Linked DNA regions of Homo sapiens: region 2 is linked to region 1. The links are contacts of gene promoters, found by promoter capture Hi-C in human tissues and cell types (Jung and others, 2019). All regions are on one chromosome and are shown on one strand. The core of a region is centred on a gene start or on the middle of the fragment in contact, and the rest is flanking DNA. Distances in the headings are between cores, read along the strand shown.

What was found. The method cuts DNA at HindIII sites, captures the fragments that hold promoters and counts their contacts. A contact is called where the count stands out against the background at its distance.
Region 2: a fragment that was not itself captured here is called in contact with the fragment with the promoter of ABHD15 in region 1 in 1 of the 25 tissues and cell types used here (dorsolateral prefrontal cortex).

The regions. Positions count from the first base shown.
Region 1 is chr17:29,565,761-29,573,351 of GRCh38, reverse strand. It overlaps ABHD15 (abhydrolase domain containing 15), which reads left to right and starts at 6,315. Exons shown (of 2, transcript NM_198147.3): 1 at 6,315-7,266. The coding sequence starts at 6,386. It overlaps TP53I13 (tumor protein p53 inducible protein 13), which reads right to left and starts at 4,651. Exons shown (of 7, transcript NM_138349.4): 1 at 4,522-4,651; 2 at 4,266-4,334; 3 at 3,993-4,034; 4 at 1,633-1,761; 5 at 1,295-1,495; 6 at 655-1,210; 7 at 195-540. The coding sequence starts at 4,593. The coding sequence ends at 428. RefSeq lists silencers at 392-461, 4,415-4,774, 5,775-6,034, 6,125-6,744 and enhancers at 3,611-4,111, 5,195-5,244, 7,265-7,374. The HindIII fragment of the contact is 7,059 bases long and covers 4,072-7,591 here.
Region 2 is chr17:28,762,488-28,770,078 of GRCh38, reverse strand. It overlaps FAM222B (family with sequence similarity 222 member B), which reads left to right. Exons shown (of 3, transcript NM_001077498.3): 2 at 3,372-3,493. The coding sequence starts at 3,412. Among named protein-coding and RNA genes, the nearest start is that of TRAF4, 22 kb to the right of the region's middle. The HindIII fragment of the contact is 6,278 bases long and covers 322-6,599 here.

The sequences.
Region 1 (7,591 bases), core at 5,066-7,565:
GAGTTAGTTTGCGAATAACAAAGCTAACATGTATGACGATAACGCCACCCTCCCACGAGCACATTCCTAAAGCCCCATGTCCAGGGACAGGTTGGCCAGCGGGGGCGGGCTGCCTCAAACACCACCTCCATGGCCTAGGACGAGGGTCCGGGTGGGAGTCTCTGTGCGGCAGATGCACAAGCTCAACTCCAGAGTCTACTAAAAATAATTTAATTAGAAACGGAGTTTTGGCAAGGGAGGCAGAAGCGGCTCCTTTTCTCCCCTTGGCCGCCCACTCAGCAACCAACAAGGAGGAAAGCCCCCGCAGTGCTCGGCCAGTGCCGCGCCATCGCCACCAGGGAGCGCCCCGCGCGCGGTCCACGTGGCAGAGGTCGCGGCCTCGCGGCGCGGGGAGGAGCCGCACGCCACAGTGGCAGGTCCCAGGCCGTCACTCCGAGCTCTCGCCTTCCGGGCCGCTGTCCGGCGTGGGCGGGAGGAGGGGTCTCCGGCGCGAGCGCTTGACCCGGCGCGAGGGCTGCAGCAGCCTCCGCTTCAGCACAGCTGTGGGCCGGGCGCCGAGCAGTCAAGGGCGGGAGGGCAGGGAAGCTACGGGGGGCGGCGGGCGACGCGAGGTGGGGCGGGGGCCTCGGGTAGGGTAGGGAGGGAACTCCTCACCAGCCACTGTGTCCTGGCTGTCCGCTGTGGGCCCCCAGTAGATGCTCTCCCCGCGTCGGAAGTTTCTGTGCAGCCGTGTGCAGAGCGTGGCCAGGGTGAGCAGCACCAGCAGGAAGGTCAGGGCCATGGCAGCCCAGGCGGCCTCTTCAGTGCGTGGGGTGGGGCCCCGGGCTGCCCGTGGAGGCGCTGCTGCGCGAGGGGCCGGGGAAGCCTGACTTGAACAGACACAGCCCCCTGGGCTGCCTTGCCCGTTGGGCACCTGAGCCTCTGTCCTGGAGCTGGCATTGCCTCCAGGCGCCCCCGGCAGCAGGGAGACAGTGGGCACAGATGGGGCATTACTCTCCCTACCAGGGATTCCCGCCATGGACTGCTTGGCCTTCAAGCTCCCTGGGGAAGCAGAGGGAAACCTCAGGGCTGAGCGAGTGGGCTGGGGACCAAGGGCAGCCCGCAGCCTCCGCCTCTTGGCACCACTAGAAGAGGGCTGCCTGGGCCCTTGAGATGTCACCTCTGTGCCAGGGGGCCGCCAGCTCCGCAGAGCAAAGGCCAGAGCCAGGGCCTAAGGAGAGGAGAGAGAGCAATCACCCTGCTGCCCCTCTCAGAGAACCCGAGGGCCAACAAGCCTGGGCCCAGCGTCTCTCACCTGCACACACCCTCTTCGGCACAGCCTCCCTCTACCGGGAGTTGGCTCGGAGGGAGCAGGCCCTGAAAGGCTTTCACAGTAGATCCATGCCTTCTTCTTCCTCTGCTTCCTCCTCCGCCTCCTCATCAGCCAGTGGGCAGCCCAGGCTGGCTCTACCCAGGCCATCTCCAGCGCCAGCCCCCATGCAGTCAGCACCAGGGGCTACGAGAGGAGGTAACTGTTAGAGCTACGAGGAAGGTGGGGACAAACAAGAGGAAACCCTTGAATTTTCCATTCCCTGCACACGGGGCCATAGCCTTCTGCCAGGGCCAGGCAAGCGCCTTTCATCAGCTACATACCCGATCCTGCGTGAGGCTGAAGTCAGGGGTGAGGGAAGGGTTAGCCATACAAGCATAGGCCAGGAGGGCAAGCTGGAGCTTCAGCCAGGGATGGGCACAGGGGTGGTAGAGGAAGGTGACATCCTCAGCCTGGAGGAAAGGCACAGAGACATCAAAGCAGGCCCAGAGCCCTCCCAGAGAATCTCAAGTTCTCCCATCCAGGGGACCAGTTTAAAGGTACTCCCAGGATAGCTGGATGGCTCTTCTACCTTCAGGGCCCAGGAAAGGACAAAGGGCCCTGGGTATTGGCATGTACCCACTCTTGCCTCTGAGTGTTCCTTTCACCCTTCCTCTCCATCAAGTGCCACCCTTCAAAGCTCACAGCATGCCTGGATAATCCTGCCAGACTCAGACCACACTCTAGCCATATTTCCCTGCAGGTGTAACGATGGCTCTACAGGTCCACAATCCAAGCCATAAGCAACCCCCAAATGAAGACCATCGATCCAATCTATACAGTCTCCCAAGAGCATCCAAATACAGGGCAGGCAGGCAGCAGGTGCACAATCTCAGGATGGAAATACTCCATCAATCATTCATTATTCTTTGATTGAGTTGACTTGGTGCTCAGTGCTGTGCTAGATGCTGTGGGAGATGCCAAAGAACTCCTGGACTCTGCTTGCAAGGAGTGTGTGAGAAACTCAGGGAAACAACTAATGCAAATAAAACAGCAAACTAATAAAACTTAGTGATTAGTTGTTAAATTATCAGAGATAGATTCAGAGGAGGAGGGGAGGAATAAAGGCTGATGCCATCGGGCAGTGTCTCAGGGGGAGCTGATGCCAGCTGGGACTGGGAAGATGGCTGGGGGAGTATGGCAGGAGGGCAGGGAGCTGCACTCTCCGAGTCAGGATAGGCCAGGTGTGGAGGAGAATAAACAGGAGCAAAGGGGCTGTGGTAAGGGCGAGGCTGGCACTCATTTGTGTGGCAAACAGCCCGACACAACTGGAGAGGAACCAAGGATGTGGAGAGGTCAGACGAAGCTTACTTAAGTAAGGCCTGAAAAGCCAGGCCGGAGAATATGGCCACGATAAGGTGGGAAATAAGGAGCCATTGACAGTTTGTGAACAGAGGAATGACTTCATGAAAGGGCTGTTTGAGGAAAGGAATCTGATAGGTGGCGTGAGGCAACAACTCTTGGCCTGGAGCTATTACAGAGAATTTTTTTTTTTTTTTGAGACAGTCTCGCTCTGTCGCCAGGCTGGAGTGCAGTGGCATGGTCTCGGCTCACTGCAACCTCTGCCTCCTGGGCTCAAGCAATTCTCCTGCCTCAGCCTCCCAAGTAGCTGGGATTACAGGGGTGTGCCACCACGCCCAGCTAATTTTTGTATTTTTAGTAGAGACAGGGTTTCACCATGTTGGCCAAGCTGGTCTTGAACTCCTGACCTCAGGTGTTCCACCCGCCTCAGCCTCCTAAAGTACTGGGATTACAGGTGTGAGCCACCATGCCTGGCCAATTTAAGTTAGGTATTTCAGGCCAGGCATGGTGGCTCACACCTGTAATCCCAGCACTTGGGAGGCTGAGGCAGGCAGATCACTTGAGGTCAGGAGCTCAAGACCAGCGTGGGCAACATGGTGAAACCTCGTCTCTACTAAAAATACAAAATTAGCTAAGCTAGGTGGCACACGCCTGTAATCCCAGCTGCTCGGGAGGCTGTGGCATAAGAATTGCTTGAACCTGGAGGCAGAGGTTGCAGTGAGTGCCACTGCACTCCAGCCTGGGCAACAGAGTGAGATTCCATTTCAAATAATAATAATAATAAGTATTTCAAAGGAAAATTCAGAGGAGCTGGCGATGAAGATGGAGATGCTACCACGCAAGCTGAGCCCGCAGTGTGGAGCCTGGCAACTGGAGGCACACTCCTTGCACGATGCAGCTCTGTACTGTACACGGTGCTGGCACATACCCTCCCTCGCTGCTCACAGGTAGAGACAGAATTAATACCCTCTCCTACAGAAAGCTGGGGCCCACAAAGTCAGGAGACTTCCCGCTGTCTCCTCAGGGAGCTGGAGCCTGGGTTTTTTCCAGCTACTCTCAGAGAGAGTTCCACTCACAGCCACTTGTCCACAGAGCCAGCTACCCAACAGCATCCTGACACAGCATTGCAGATGACAGGCCTATGGCTCACTGTCTTTGAGCCATCTGTCCTGGGGCTGATCTGTCCTGGGCTTGGAGGTGGGGCAGAGAACTAGAACCCTGCCTCTGCCTGAGGGAAGTGGTAAGGAATGGGGCCGATCAGCAGAACAGGCAGCGAAGCCTGCTAGGAGCGCCTGTCTCCAGGCGTGGACACCAAGGGTGGTGGGCCCCTGCTTGTACTCACCTGCCCTGGGCTCACTCGTGTGTAGGTCACTCTTGGTGACACCTATACATGGGGAAAGAACAGAGCTTAGGGCAGTTGGGGGACTCCGTGTGTGTGTGGTGGGGAGGGGACGGCAGGCCCCAAGCGCCAGGCTGGGATGGAGAAGTTGGCTACTGAGGACTGAGGAACCGGCAGAGGTCCTCAGATGGTGACTGTGGAGGGTGCGGCGAGAACAGAGCGGGACTGGGCTAGCCTTTCACATCCCTCTCTCCCTGGGCCCTCCAGGGCTCCTACCTGCGGAGGCAGAGGCCACAGGCTCTCGGGACAATGGGCTCCCGCCTCCTCCGCCGGTCCAGCCATCACCTGTGGGTCCAAAGCGAAGAGTTGGGGCGCTGGACGCGGCGAGGCCCTGCCCTCTCTCTCCCCAGGCCCAGCCCGCCAGCGGAAGAACTCCGCGTCCCCCTCGGCGCGCCACTCCTTCCAGGACGAACTTTTGGCAAAGCGCTTTGAGCTCGCGGGCCGAGGCCTTCCCAGGAGCGGGTCACCTTACCTCGCTGGGACCCAGGAGCCTCGCGAGGGCTGCCAGGAGAAGCAGTTGGGGCGAAGGCGGAGGAGGCGCCATTCCAAGCGGCCCCGGGCCCGGCCCGCCGCCCAGCCGCTCCGCCAGCGAGGGAGCGCGCGCGCCCCGCCCCTCCAGCCCCAGCGCCCCCGCGCCGCCCGCGCCGCCCGCGCGTCCGTTGGCCCTGGGCTCGCGCGCGCCCCTCCCCAGACAGTGGGCCCCCGGTATCGCCCCGCCCCAATGCCCGCCCACAGCAGCGGAGTGTGCGCGCACGCGTCTTAAACCCGAAGCCGGAAAAGTTAAGTGTAGGAACCGGGTCAGCGCGCAAGGCTCAGTAGGGCAGGCGGGGGGCCCCTTTCCTCGTCCGGGGATTCGTCTCAGCAGGTCCCTGCAGTCTGTAGAGCAGCTGCACAGCTGCAGCGCCTGGATGAGATCGTGGAGCGGAGTGTAAGGCCGGAAATGGAATCCCTGTGGACCGGGTGGCCCAGGCTGGGGAGACGGGTACACTCCCCTGGCAAACCCGCTTCAGATTTGTCGGTGTGACCTGCAATGAGAAGAGGGGCAGAATCATGAAGTCAGGAAGAGCTGCTGAAGGGAGAGGGTCCCACCTCTGGAGCTTCGCCGTCGGCCCACCCCGCTCCCGCCCTCGCAAATAGGGTCCAACGCGGAGGAGCCTCGGGAGGTGTCTCCGCTCCCCAAACTCTCCAAACCCAGAAGCCCCGGGAGGCCGGAGCTAGCCGAGAGGCTGCTGTCTTCCCCACCTCCGCCGTCGCCCAGCGGTGGCAGGCGCGCGTCTAGAAAGAGATTGGTCGCCGCGAGATGGGGACGCCACAGGCCTCACCCCCAGGAGGTGCGCTGGCCGGCCCGCCCCGCAGCGGGGCGCTGGTTCTGGTTCCCTCTCCAGGATTTGGGGGGGAAACGTGGGTAGAGAGCGAGGGTCGAGATGCCTATCCCAAAGCTTGGAAACAGCGAGAACGTGTTATTTCCGTGGTCTCCCATGCACCCCGGTTTACGAGGCGTTCCTTGTAGGTCGGACGGGCATCCCTGTCGCAGGGCGCCTGAGTGTGTCCTTTTCTCCGACTGACTCTCGGAGGCTTGGGGCTGCTGTTTCTGGGGAAGCCACTCCCGGGCTGAGGATTTCCTTGATGTGGAGCCCCGAGCTCGCGGGGACGGGGGCGAGGAGTCCACGGGACCCGCACTGATGCAGGCGGGGAAGCAGCAGCCTCCCGCCAGCGGCTCAAGACGCCGCGCTCGACCTCTCTAGCCCAGTGCCGGACCCCGCCCAGCCAAGTTATTGCGGGGTTGCGGGGCCGGGCGGGGGAGAGCAGGGCCGCCCGAGGGCAGAGCGCGCGCGCGGCCGCCGCCCCACGGGGTCCCGGGAGCCGGCGCCCGGAGCTGCGACTTACTCACCTCTCCCTTCTGCTTCTTTTCATCGGCCTCTGAGGGCGCAGCGCCCAGGGTCTGGCGGAAGACCCTGATGACAGTCGGGTCCCCAAGCCTCGGCCTCCAGTCTCCCCACGTCTCCATGGCCAACACCGCTCTCCCCGGCTCGTGCCCTCCCCACTCCCTTCCGGCTGCCGGCGCGCCCTCCCTCCCTGGTGGCCCCGGCTCCTCTCACCCTCTGCTCCCACTTGTTGCAATTGCTGTACAAAGGGCCGGGGCGGGGGTGGGGGGCGGGCGAGGGCAGCCGGGCCCGAACTGGCTGCCTCTGCCCGGCCACGGCCAATCCAGAGCGCGCCCGCGCGGGAGGGCCCTGGGCAGCCGCCGCCGGCGGGCGGAGCCGCGGGCAAAGCGCGGAGCTCGCCGAGTAGACGGCCCCGCCGCCCGCTGCCCGCCGGGGCTCTCCAGCTTCGCCATGCCGCCGTGGGGCGCCGCCCTCGCGCTCATCTTGGCCGTGCTCGCCCTTCTCGGCCTGCTCGGCCCGCGGCTCCGGGGACCCTGGGGGCGCGCCGTCGGAGAGAGGACCCTGCCGGGGGCCCAAGACCGAGACGACGGGGAGGAGGCGGACGGCGGAGGCCCGGCGGACCAGTTCAGCGACGGGCGCGAGCCACTGCCGGGAGGGTGCAGCCTTGTTTGCAAGCCGTCGGCCCTGGCCCAGTGCCTGCTGCGCGCCCTGCGGCGCTCAGAGGCGCTGGAGGCCGGCCCGCGCTCCTGGTTCTCCGGGCCCCACCTGCAGACCCTCTGCCACTTCGTCCTGCCCGTAGCGCCTGGGCCTGAGCTGGCCCGGGAGTACCTGCAGTTGGCGGACGATGGGCTAGTGGCCCTGGACTGGGTGGTAGGACCTTGTGTTCGGGGCCGCCGGATCACCAGCGCCGGGGGCCTTCCTGCGGTGCTTCTGGTGATCCCCAATGCGTGGGGTCGCCTCACCCGCAACGTGCTCGGCCTTTGCTTGCTCGCCCTGGAGCGCGGCTACTACCCGGTCATCTTCCATCGCCGCGGCCACCACGGTTGCCCACTGGTCAGCCCCCGGCTGCAGCCTTTCGGGGACCCGTCCGACCTCAAGGAGGCGGTCACATACATCCGCTTCCGACACCCGGCGGCGCCGCTGTTCGCGGTGAGCGAAGGCTCGGGCTCGGCGCTGCTCCTGTCCTACCTGGGCGAGTGCGGCTCCTCCAGCTACGTGACAGGCGCCGCCTGCATCTCGCCCGTGCTGCGCTGCCGAGAGTGGTTCGAGGCCGGCCTGCCCTGGCCCTACGAGCGGGGCTTTCTGCTCCACCAGAAGATCGCCCTCAGCAGGTGGGTAACGGAGGCCGCAGACCAGCATGGAAAGAATAGAGGGCCTGAGCTGGCTAAGAATCAGAAACAGCTATGCATAGCATTGGAACAGGCGTGGGCCAGTTTGGGCAAAGTTCTCTGAACACATCTTCCAAAGCCTTCCAAACCCTGTAATCTAGACAGAACCGGGGAAGCGGGTTTAAAGGTCATCGATGGACTCAGCTAGTATCGCTGTGCTAGAGCAGGGACTCCTAACCCGGCCCCTTGCCTCATCTCGGCACCCCCTGCTGTATCCTAGCAATCTGAGCACCTGGCCCACGACAGCAGAGATACCTGACATTTACCA
Region 2 (7,591 bases), core at 2,211-4,710, 800 kb after region 1:
CAGGAAGGGCCACGTGCCTGGGGTTAATTGTGTGGGAGGAATTGTTGAGTTCAGGGTCTCAGGATAGATTTTAAAAGAAAAAAATGAGGGAAATAAGGATACTGTTTTAGACATGGAGGTCAAAGAAGCCCTCCCCTTAAGAAGTGACATTTAAGCAGAAACCTGAATGAAGTGAGGGAGCTAGAAAAATAAGTAGACATCTGGGGCAAGAACATTCCAGGCAGAGGGAATGGTAAGGACAAAGTCCTAAAGCGGTAGCGTGTTTGGCTCGTTGAAGGAACTGCAGGGAAACCATGGTGAGACCATGGTGGCTGGAAGTAAGTCAGCAAGAGAGGGCAGGGTAGGTCAGAAGGTGAGGTCAGAGAACCAGTAGTAATAGATCATGGAGGGCCTTGGGGTCCATGTTAGGATTTTGTATTTTATTCTTAGATGGAAAGTCATTAGAGATATTTAAGCTGCTCTGACTTTCAGTTAACAGAATTGGCCGGGCGCGGTGGCTCACGTCTGTAATCCCAGCACTTTGGGAGGCCAAGGCGGGCGGAACACGAGGTCAAGAGATCGAGACCATCCTGGCCAACATGGGGTGAAACCCCGTTTGGGCCAGGCACGGTGGCTTACGCCTGTAATCCCAGCACTTTGGGAGGCCGAGGCGGGCGGATCATGAGGTCAGGAGATTGAGACCATCCTGGCTAACACTGTGAAACCCCATCTCTACTAAAAATACAAAAAAAAATTATCCGGGCATGGTGGCAGGCGCCTGTAGTCCCAGCTACTCGGGAGGCTGAGGCAGGAGAATGGCGTGAACCCGGGAGCGGAGGTTGCAGTGAACCGAGATCGCACCACTGCACTCCAGGCTGGGGAACAGAGCAAGACTCCATCTCAAAAAAAAAAAAAAAAAAAAAAAGAACTAACATTGCTGAATAGAGAATAGATTGGGTGATAAAGGGTAAGCGTGGAACAGACCATTTAGAAGGCTAATAGTAATCCCATCTAGAGATGATGAGATGACAGGTGAAGTTTGTTACCTGTTTCCAAGGCTTGAGAGACTCAATTAAGAAAACATCACTAAAGCCCCTCATACAGCCCATTTCACAGTTTTAGCTCCCAGTACTTGTTAATTCTCTTCCTTTCCTTGGAGTTTGCCTTCAGCTGTGTTAGGGTCTTAAGGGAGAAGTTATTATGTAAAGATCAGCATCCAGACCCCAACAGAAGTCTCTCTTTTTTTTTTTTTTTTTTTTTTTTGAGACAGAGTTTTACTCTTGTGGCCCGGGCTGGAGTGCAGTGGCGCAGCCTCTGCTCACTGCAACCTCTGCCTTCTGGGTTCAAGCAGTTCTCCTGCCTCAGCCTCCTGAGTAGCTGGGACTACAGGCATGCGCCACCATGCCCAGCTAATTTTGTATTTTTAGTAGAGACAGGGTTTCACCACGTTGGCCACGCTGTTCTCGAACTCCTGACCTCAGGTAATCTGCCCGCCTCGGCCTCCCAAAGTGCTGGGATTACAGGTGTGAGCCACCGTGCCCGGCCAAGACTTTTTTTTTTTCTTGAGGCACTGAAGTTGGCTCACTGTGTTCATTCTGTTTTCCCACCCACCAGAGATCTTAAAAAGACTGACGCTGTGCCAGAACTCTTGGACAGCTCTGTTCTCATTAAGGCATTCAATCTTCAGTTCTTTCTGCAGTTGCTATCTTAGACACAGTTTGAGCAGCCTCTTTTACAAAGTGTCTTTTCAGCTACCTGGTCTTGGAAGCAGGAGCCCTCTGATACTCATCATGACAAGGTAGTTTAATATACCTGAGAGAGCCCTCTCAAGAAAATAAGGAGATTTTTGTCGTCTTTAACTTTTGAGCTTTTCCCCCACTCCTTTTTTGCTGTGATCTAAAGCCATAATTTGCCACCTTGGTTTCTGAAATATGGGAAAAGAAGTTCGTGTACTTATTTAGGAAAATCGTATTTCTGTTACCTAAGGAGCTTGCATTGTTGACAGGGCTTCTTTCGCTACAGAAGGCCCCATCAATGTCTGCTTGCTTGGGCTGTGTATGTCTGGTTGGTAAACATCACTAATGAAACTCGTGCGGTCTTGACATGTCAGGATTGCCTGCACGAAGAGAGCTGCTGGCAGCCTTTCTCCTTGCTTTAGTCTGGGAGCAATGCATTTCTTTTGAGGGGGTGGGAGAGGTAGTTCAGGAGGTCTAATTGCATGTCAGGAAGGGTGAAGCCCCAGAAATTTGCAAACAGAATTTGCTTTAACAGTGGTTAATTGTGCCTCCTAGGATGCTTTCCTCCTTCCATTTAAAAGTGAGTTCGGCCGGGTGCGGTGGCTCATGACTGTAATCACAGCACTTTGGGAAGCTGAGGCGGGCGGACCACCTGAGGTCAGGAGTTTGAGACCAGCCTGACCAACATGGTGAAACCCCATCTCTACTAAAAGTACAAAAATTGGCTGGGCATGGCGGCATGCGCCTGTAATCCCAGCTGCTAGAGAGGCTGAGGGACGAGAATCGCTTGAACTCAGGAGTCAAGGGTTGCAGTGAGCCAAAATTGTACCACTGCACTCCAGCCTAGGTGACAGCAGAACTCTGTCTTAAATAAATAAATAAATAAGTAAATAAATGTAAGTTCATGGCCGGGTGCAGTGGCTCACACCTGTAATCCCGGCACTTTGGGAGGCCGAGGTGGGCGGATCAACTGAGGTCAGGAGTTCGAGACCAGCCTGGCCAACATGGTGAAACCCCGTCTCTACTAAAAATACAAAGAAATTAGCCAGGCGTGGTGGCGGGTGCCTTTAATCCCAGCTACTCGGGAGGCTGAAGCAGGAGAATCGCTTGAACCTGGGAGGCAGAGGTTGCAGTGAGCCAAGATCGCACCATGGCACTCCAGCCTGGGCAACAAGAGTGAAACTCCGTCTCAAAAAAAATAAAATAAAAGTGGGTTCATATTACTGGCTCACAAGTCAGACATTGGGTACCTTTGCAATCATATAATGTGCTGCTTCTGAAAATGTCTGGCTGGTCTCCAACCAGGCCTATAAATGGGCTGGCTGAGCCAGGCCCTATGAGGGCCCACTCTCCTCAGGAATACTGAGACATTATAAATGCACCTGTACTTTCCAGTTGTATGAATAGGTGCTTTCCAGTTTTATTTCTCCCATCCATACATCTGTGGTAACTGAAAAATCATTTTAACCATAGTGATATTTGACAGCAAATTGTCGTCACAGATAAAGATGTAAGTATACTTTCAACCAACACACTGCTAATTAAATTGCTTTATGTGTCTAAACTTGGGCCTCACGCCAGTCATATCCAGTGTTCCTACTCTCTTCTTCGAATGAGTTGCCTTGTGTTTCATGACCTTGTTTTTGTTCATTACAGTGTGAGCCACTGCCCCATGTTGTGTTGATGCCAATCTGCCATGCTAGCCTGTCTACCAGGGCCAGGTGACCTGTCCTTTCAGCTTCTTTCTCACACGCAGATGAACACTGGACTTCAGAAATGTAAGTAATCTGGATCCTATGGAGCATGTGTGATTCTTTGTTTTTGTCTCTACATTTGGGCCGTCCTTGAAGCACATCTGGGGTACACTGACCTTGAATTTTGACACCTTTCTTTTTTTTTTTTTTTTAAGACGAAGTCTTGCTCTTGTCACCCAGGCTGGAGTGCAATGACGCGATCTTGATTGGCTCACTGCAACCTCTCCCTCCCGGGTTAAGCAATTCTCTTGCTTCAGCCTCCCGAGTAGCTGGGATTACAGGTGCCCACCACCATGCCTGGCTAATTTTCTATTTTTAGTAGAGATAGGGTTTCACCATGTTGGCCAGGCTGGTCTCAAACTCCTGATCTCAGGTGATGCCCCTAACTTGGCCTCCCAAAGTGCTGGGATTACAGGTGTGAGCCACTGTGTCCAGCCATTAGGGGTCTGCTTAAATTCTGTAATTCCCCATTGTATCTCAATTTTAATTGTTGCTGATAGCTTTCTGTTGAACAACAAAACTATAAAGAGCTTCAGGGGAAATATATATATATATATCACCCTTAAAAAAGGTGTTTCAGTTTGAACCTTCATAGGGAATTGAATGAAAACTCACAGTCCAGATTACTTACTATATCTCTGAAATAAACTATGCTGTTCTCTTGTTTTGAACTCTCTTAGTAGTCTACCATGGAAACAGACAGTTCCCTTTGGCTTTGCTACCTGCCTTCTGAGTCAGTGTGACTTTAGTTCACAGGAAGTCAGGGAGCTTTTGCCCTCAGAAGAGATGGAGAGCTAGCTTTCTCAGTCTCTCTGGGCATTTTCCTGCTAATACACTTCCCAGAAGATTGAGCCTTTGAAAACTGTTAGATTCTTGTCTTAACTTTCTGGAATTGGGGTTTTATACTTCATATTTTCCCGGACTCCTTCCTACCTTCTCTCCCTGTAATACATGATCTGCAAGGAAAATATTCTATTCTTGGCACATTACCATGTATAGTATCTTCAGGTGTAAAAACAGCCCTAAATTTGGAATAGACCTTCCATTCAGAGCACAAAGGGGAAATCATTGAGGTGGCTAGGCTTCCCTTTGATAGGAAAGGTGCTTCAGCACCTTAACTGAACCCCTTATGACAGGGGTTAACAAACTTTCTGTAAAGCCCAGATAGCCAATAATTTAAGCTTTGTGGGCCATGTGGTCTCTGTTGCATCTACTCAACTCTGGCATTGTAGGGCAACGGCAGCCACAGACAATAAACAAATGAGGGTGTCTGTGTTCCAGTGAAACTTTTTTACAAAAAAACAGCAACTGGACCAGGCACGCAGGCTGTCGTTTGCCAGCCCCTGCCATGTGAGAACATCATCAGAAGTTAAAAATGGTCCAGCCTTTAGACTTCATTTCTTTGAGAGAGCGTAAGACTCAGAGCCTGGCTAGTTCTGGAATTTGGCCAGTGAATCCAGCTCTATGTAATAACAGCTGAAGGTGGTAGTCCTCCTTCTACAGTTGCCTGACACAATAAGGCAAGCTCTGCTATAGCTTTCTCAACCCATCCTTTATCTTAATAAGTGATGATTGGGTGATGAAGGTGTTATGTTATACTCTCTGGTCATCCAAATCAGCATCCTAACTGCATCGTGCCTATTTCTGGGCTTCTGGGGACACAACTGGAGAGGGAACGTACTTAGAGGCATGCAGTAAGATGACAAAGAGAAGCTTCCTTTGTTCTGGGTTCCTTAACACACTCTGACAGCTTTACCCAAAGATGTGATATCAAGGGAAAAGCCATTTGGAGGACGGGCAAATTGGCAGCTTTATCTTGGTGTTCACTTTTATTATTTTTATTTTTTTTTTAATTATTTTTTTTAGATAGAGTTTTGCTCTTGTTGCTAGGCTGGAGTGCAATGGCGTGATCTCGGCTCAACGCAACCTCCGCCTTCTGGGTTCAAGCGATTCTCTACCTCAGCCTCTTGAGTAGCTGAGATTACAGGCATGCACCACCACGCCCAGCTAATTTTGTATTTTCAGTAGAGACAGGGTTTCTTCATGTTGGTCAGGCTGGTCTCGAACTCCCGACTTCAGGTGATCCGCCTGCCTCGGCCTCTCAAAGTGCTGGGATTACAGGTGTGAGCCACCACACCCAGCCCACTTTATTTTATTTTATTATTTTGAGGAGGACTTTTGCTCTTGTCACCCAGGCTGGAGTGCAGTGGCACGATCTCGGCTCACTGCAACCTCCGCCTCCCAAGTTCAAGTGATTCTCCCGCCTCAGTCTCCTGAGTAGTGGGATTACAGGCATGAGCCACCATGCCCGGCCCTTTTTTTTTTTTTTTTTTTTTTTGAGATGGAGTCTCCCTCTGTCACCCAGACTGGAGTGCAGTGGCGCAATCTCGGTTCACTGCAACCTCCATCTCCCGGGTTTAAGCAGTGCTCCTGCCTTAGTCTCTCGAGTAGCTCAGATTACAGGCATGCGCCACTGGAAATTTTTTCTTTCTTAATCCTAAACCTCTGCTCTGTATTTCCCCTTCTCAGGATCACAATATAGTAGTGGCTCTGTAAATATTTACTGTTTGAATAGCTGATAAAAGGTCCTTGGTCCTTAAACCATCTTCAGATAACAACTTTGATTTCCTTCCATGGCAGAACACTGGGGCTCTGGGGACAAATGCCAAAATTACCTTCTTTTACTGCTTCTTTATGTGCATATCTGCCCCCTAGTGGAGGGGTCTGGAAATGGCAGATTGACCCAATGACTGGATAAAGTCATAGAAATAATAGCTAACATTTGTCAAGTTGCTACCATGTGCCAGGCACTATATTGAATATTTTCACATATGTTGTCACCCATTCCTCAAAAATTCCATATGGAAGACTCTCTTGCCTTTGTCAGAAGGATAAGGTATAGAGAGAGGGTTTGTCACTTGCCAGTGCCACATGACAGTCCTGTGACTGGCCCATACTCAGCTCAGACTCTGAAATCTGTGTTTGAACACATTGCCTGTGCCTCTCTGCCTACAGATAGAGGTTCCTGTTGCCTATGCCACCTGTGCCCTCTGACCTTCAAAACAGAAGGATGAACAGAGAGGTCTCCATTGGGAGGACTGAATTTCAGGCAGAAAATTGCCTCCAGTCCATCCTGGAATAGACAGCAGTGCTTTCTGTTACATTTAACTCTCAGGCTGAAGGCCAGGTTGTCCTGCAGTTGGGGCTTCCTTAGTCAGTTTTCTTTGTGTTGTCTGTGGTCAGACTCAGCCACATCTGCTATCCTTGAATGGTAACTATTGACCATCATTGTTTCATTTTCAATGAAAATGCTCATTTAGTGAAAATGTTCATTGACTCTCGATCTTAGTAATTCTGTGAAGTAGGAGAGCAGAATTCATCCCTGTTGATAATTGAGGAATGACAGGCTCTCAGTATGGGCAAATGATGAAGCTAGTACTTGAATACAGGTTTCTCTAACCCTTTACAAACTACAGATTTCCTATTCCCTACATTGTCTATGTCTCTATTAATGACACTATTGGTATAAGCTATTTAAGTAAGTCGCTTACAAAGCTGTGGTATCTGTGTTGGCTGTGTAGTTACAGAAATACATTACAGAAGAAAATAAGTAGTCAGGGTGCCTGTGTGGGGGCTGTGATAAGTGTTGAGAAAACTTTTTTTTTTTTTTTTGAGACGGAGTCTTACTCTGTCACCCAGGTTGGAGTGCAGTGGTGCGATCTTGGCTCACTGCAACCCTGCCTCCCGGGTTTAAGCAATTCTTTGCCTCAGCCTCCCGAGTAGCTGGGATTACAGGCACCTGCCACCATGCCCGGCTAATTTTTTGTATTTTTTTAGTAGAGACGGGGTTTCTCCATCTTGGCCAGGCTGGTCTTGAACTCCTGACCTCGTGATCCACCCACCTCGGCCTCCCAAAGTGCTGGGATTACAGGCGTGAGCCACCATGCCCAGCTGAGAAAACTTTTTTTTTTTTTTTTTTTTTTGAGATGGAGTCTCGCTCTGTCACCCAGGCTGGAGTGCAGTGGTGCAATCTTTGCTCACTGCAACCTCCACCTGCCGGGTTCAAGCAATTCTCCTGCCTCAGCCTCCCAAGTAGCTGGGACTACAAGTGCGCTCCACCAT